Linked DNA regions of Homo sapiens: region 2 is linked to region 1. Evidence: promoter capture Hi-C in 16 types of primary human blood cells and fetal thymus (Javierre and others, 2016). All regions are on one chromosome and are shown on one strand. Each heading gives the region's core, a stretch centred on a gene start or on the middle of the fragment in contact. The rest is flanking DNA. Distances are from core to core; before and after follow the strand shown. Region 1 holds the start of ATRX (ATRX chromatin remodeler). Region 2 overlaps ATRX (ATRX chromatin remodeler).

Region 1 (2,577 bases), core at 32-2,531:
AAATACATAATTAGCTGGGCTTGATGGCACGCGCCTGCAGTCCCAGCTGCTTGAGAGGCTGAGGTGGGAGGATTGCTTGAGCCTAGGAGGTCGAGGCTGCAGTGAACTGCGTCACGCCACTGCACTCCAGCCTGGGTGACAGAGCTAGACCCTGTCTCAGAAAAAAAAAAAAAAAAAGTTGCCTGAGCCTATCAGATTTTCAAAGTGTTTCATTCAAAAAAGGCTCCCCTCTTGCTATCCCAGTAGAAAGCAGCAACCCTGTCACCTAACCCCGACAGGAGCTCTTGCATATTTCAAGAAAAATAAATAGAATGAACTAAAGCATGCATGGCAGAATAAATTTGGAAATAAATTTCGAAGCGATTAGATTTTAGAGGACTTGTTTGTGATTAGCAGAGATTACCAATGTAAAATCAAATTATAGATCATAAAAGCGGGAAAGGCATTTACAGATCATCCAGCCAAGCTTCCTCTGTAATGAGAAGGAAGCAGATCTAAATTGATTGGTTTGTGAGCTAAACATCACATCAAATTGGGGAAATGGCCCGTGTGTGTGTGTGTGTGTGTGTGTGTGTGTGTGTGTGTGTGTGTATTCTAAGAGACACTTTATTCAATATGGAAAGAATTTTATGCAGCGTTCAAGTTGGTCTTATGTCGTCTGCACACATATACATATATATAAGTATATTATACACATATACATTTCCAAGCATGTTGGTGTGCCAAATATTATGTATAAAACATCTAGGAAAGCAAATAACTTGATGATAGCCTAGCATATAGGAAAGAAAATACTTACATAGGATGGCCATACAGATTAGTGGTTAAGAGTGTCTGGTGAATCTCGGCTCCACTACTGTGGGACTTTGTGTCTTGGTTTCCTCATCTGGAAAATGTAGGTTTGTCTACCTCAGAGAGTGTAAAGATTAAATGAGATAACCCGGATAAAGGATTAGTGTAGTGCCGAGCATATAGTAAACTCTCAATAAATGTAGGTTGCTGTTATTACTTCGTTAATATGTCAAAGAAAAAAGAGGTTGGACCAAAAGAGCATTTTCAAAATAAAGTCAAACTATGTCACTAGCACTTTCAGGTCAATTGGGACTAAATTGGACCCCCTGCGAAAAGGTGGAGGGGATCAAATGACGTCGACCGCCTTAGCAACAGGCCCCCAAAGAAGGTGAATTTCCGTAGCCAATAAGACTCTGTGCTTTGGAGGAGGTAGCCAATGGCTGACGGAAAGAGAAAGAGGGAGGACGCGCCAATTCTCCTGCCTGAGCCTCGGCCCAACAAAATGGCGGCGGCAGCGGTGTCGCTTTGTTTCCGCGGCTCCTGCGGCGGTGGCAGTGGTAGCGGCCTTTGAGCTGTGGGGAGGTTCCAGCAGCAGCTACAGTGACGACTAAGACTCCAGTGCATTTCTATCGTAACCGGGCGCGGGGGAGCGCAGATCGGCGCCCAGCAATCACAGAAGCCGACAAGGCGTTCAAGCGAAAACATGACCGCTGAGCCCATGAGGTAAAACGCAACCCCGTCTCATGGGCCCCAGCGGTCTGGGCCCAGGCACCGTCTGAGTCGGGTGTTTGGGAAGGCGTTCGCTTGGTGGGTTAGGCCTGTGTGTTGCTTAGCCGAAAGAGGCATCGTTTTCTCTTTAGGTGAGAAGGGTTTCGGGGTATCGGCGCAAGGCTCCGACGGGGGTGGGGGTGGGGATGGGGTGGGGGGAGGTGGGGGGGGCGCGGCCTAGGGTATGGGGCGCTTCTTGCAATCTCCCCTAAACGGTGACGCTTGGTCGGGCTCCTCTGTTTATTCTTTGGTGCCTGTGGGATTGAGACCTCGAAGTCGGAGGCGGTCTTTGGTATCCCGGTCATTTTTGCTAATCTTTGGGCCTAGAAACTGCGTGGGGAAGAAGCGGGGGGAGGGTGAGAAGAGGGGGAGGGGTGGGCGGGCGCGAGGATGTGAGATCCCAGGACGACTTAGAGGCGTTTAGGTTGCTGGAGATGGGAAGCACCCGGGCCCTGCGGGATTTTTTTTCTGCAGCCCCAGGAGACAAGCCTTTTTTTGATTGGGTTGTGGTGCAGTTCCAGGTATTTAGGTATCTTTTCTACTCCATATCCTGAAGGATATCCTTGGGTTTATTTCTAGGCGAGGGGGGACTTAACACAGGGTTTTGCTTCCAGAGGACCCTAGTATACTACTTTTTGTGATGTCCAGCCTTAATGGGACCTCAAGTGTTTCCCCACTTTCTGGGCAAATTTCGAGGAGTAATTAGGCCCTATCTTTATTTACTTATTTATTCCATGAAGGATGAAGGGCAGGTTAACGTGGGCTGATGCGAAGTAAGATTTATTGCAAGGGAAAATGCCTGGCAGGCCTCCTCTTAACCAATCAAGCACGTTTATTAGGTTGAAGCTGTTTTTCTGTGTGCTTCTGATTTGCCTCTTGACGGGTCTGAAAATTTGGGTAGTCAATATGAAATGTATACACTTTTACCCAGGTGGCTGGCTGGCGTTTCAGTTTGACATTTGAATTTTCATCCCACAATGTGAATTAAGTAATTTTTTTACTCGGAGATGCATCCTT
Region 2 (2,577 bases), core at 55-2,554, 280 kb after region 1:
ATACTATCTGTGTTTTCACCATTCAAAGTGCTGTTTAGTAGTTGAAACTTAAACTATTTAATGTCATTTAATAAAGTGACCAAAATGTGTTGTGCTCTTTATTGTATTTTCACAGCTTTGAAAATCTGTGCACATACTGTTTCATAGAAAATGTATAGCTTTTGTTGTCCTATATAATGGTGGTTCTTTTGCACATTTAGTTATTTAATATTGAGAGGTCACGAAGTTTGGTTATTGAATCTGTTATATACTAAATTCTGTAAAGGGAGATCTCTCATCTCAAAAAGAATTTACATACCAGGAAGTCCATGTGTGTTTGTGTTAGTTTTGGATGTCTTTGTGTAATCCAGCCCCATTTCCTGTTTCCCAACAGCTGTAACACTCATTTTAAGTCAAGCAGGGCTACCAACCCACACTTGATAGAAAAGCTGCTTACCATTCAGAAGCTTCCTTATTACCTGGCCTCCAAATGAGCTGAATATTTTGTAGCCTTCCCTTAGCTATGTTCATTTTCCCTCCATTATCATAAAATCAGATCGATATTTATGTGCCCCAAACAAAACTTTAAGAGCAGTTACATTCTGTCCCAGTAGCCCTTGTTTCCTTTGAGAGTAGCATGTTGTGAGGCTATAGAGACTTATTCTACCAGTAAAACAGGTCAATCCTTTTACATGTTTATTATACTAAAAATTATGTTCAGGGTATTTACTACTTTATTTCACCAGACTCAGTCTCAAGTGACTTGGCTATCTCCAAATCAGATCTACCCTTAGAGAATAAACATTTTTCTACCGTTATTTTTTTTCAAGTCTATAATCTGAGCCAGTCCCAAAGGAGTGATCAAGTTTCAGAAATGCTTTCATCTTCACAACATTTTATATATACTATTATATGGGGTGAATAAAGTTTTAAATCCGAAATATATACTGTGTCAAAGCTCAATATGTGCCAGGTAACTAAACTGTTAACATCACTAGCGTTGGATGTAATAACAGGATAGTGGCTCACCCCCAAGAGCTGCCATAAAATTCCATTATGATAGGTACTACCACCGTCTCTTTGGAACAACCTTCCTGACACCATTGTGCCACTAAACTAAGGGAATCATCCTTCCTCGCTTTCTAGGGATCTTTTTGATAGCGACTGTTGCACACACCTTCACCAAGAAAGAGAGCATATAAATTGAGGCCATTAGTAAAGATAAGGATACAACTATAATTGAAAGAATGAAGGAGTGAGGCAAATCCTAAAATACTGCAGGCAGGCCGTCTTTAATACAGCATATCACAAGCAATCTCTACCCAGCAACACTCCCCCACATTAAGTTCCTGAACATTCTACCCTTCTCTGATAGAAACATGTAAGGGATGAGGGAGCTTGGCTGTAATCTTCAGCTTTGCAAATACAATGACTATTAAGAGACTTTCCTATTAAGTATACCCAGGTCCATCCCTATGCTCCTTGTGTCGTATATGTGTTGTTTTTCAAGAAAGGTGAAGAAAGATGGCTTATATGCAAGGATGGGATTTGTTTTAGTTATATGGGGAGAAAGTATAGTACTGAAAGAGAGCAAAGAAGGATCGGGAAAGAGACTAAATTGGAGTGGATTGATGAAGAGCCTTGAAATCCTGAATGAGTAATTCAGTACAGAGGATAACAAGGGTTTGTGAGGCAGATGATAATGTTTAGCAAGTAAAGATGGCTATTTGGGTGAGGGTAATTTGGTTTAGAATGCAAGGTGGAAGATTGGAGACAGGAAGATAATTGGTCCAAGTATGAAGGACAAAAGAAAAAAAAATCATTAGAGGCTGTATAGGATAGTGAACTTTTACAATGATACTTATAATAAAAACCTGTTATTTTACTTTCCCCCTAAGGAGGCTTTGTTTCAGAATTTTGATTTTTACACACAAAATTCACTTACTCTGATTACTCTCAAACATAATGGTATGTTCGTCAGCGACATTCCTATTCTTTCTCAATTTTTTTTGTACTCCTTTACATTTGCAGAAAGTGAGATTGGTCCATTGAGTGTAATTCTACTTCTTTCCTCAAGCCAATTCTTAAAAAAGTGAAATCCAAATATTTCTGTTACATTTCTTTGAGACCCATTCATTCAAAGTGCTAGTAGCTTTGTGGGTAATGTTATATTTATAAGCTTTCCTTAGTATTTTCAACGTGCTTTGTAGTTATCGTGTTAACCCTATACACAACGTATCTGTGAGAGAAGTGAAAATAATGCCATTTTCCTTATGACAAGTTATAAGTGAAACCAAAATCAAATCTGTTGCACTTAAGGAGGCAGAAGACATAGTCTAGTTAGTTAAATTTTCCAGGTCTTTCATATCTAATTTGAGAAAAATGGGACAATAATAATACCTTGCCTGCTAGAAGGCAGGGGACTAGACCAGGTGATTTCCTAAGTCCTGTTAAGCTCCCCGAGTTAAACTTTGAGCAAAGCACAGTCTAAAGCCAAAAGGCAATGTGTTTGTCTAAGATTACAGGGTAAATTTGTAAACAGTACTAGAAATCCCTTCCCTTTGGCTAACCCTCTCCCCTACTAAGCTATACCTTTTC

Evidence for each region. Contacts are between HindIII fragments. The CHiCAGO score rates a contact against its expected background, and 5 or more counts as called.
Region 2: a fragment that was not itself captured here is called in contact with the fragment with the promoter of ATRX in region 1 in 1 of 17 cell types (naive CD8 T cells); the score reaches 5.1 in naive CD8 T cells.

The regions. Positions count from the first base shown.
Region 1 is chrX:77,784,920-77,787,496 of GRCh38, reverse strand. ATRX (ATRX chromatin remodeler) reads left to right here and starts at 1,281. Exons shown (of 35, transcript NM_000489.6): 1 at 1,281-1,515. The coding sequence starts at 1,496. RefSeq lists enhancers at 1,208-1,397, 1,408-1,517 and a silencer at 1,618-1,667. The HindIII fragment of the contact is 7,766 bases long and covers 469-2,577 here.
Region 2 is chrX:77,503,225-77,505,801 of GRCh38, reverse strand. ATRX (ATRX chromatin remodeler) reads left to right here. Exons shown (of 35, transcript NM_000489.6): 35 at 1-922. Among named protein-coding and RNA genes, the nearest start is that of FGF16, 57 kb to the right of the region's middle. The HindIII fragment of the contact is 1,712 bases long and covers 449-2,160 here.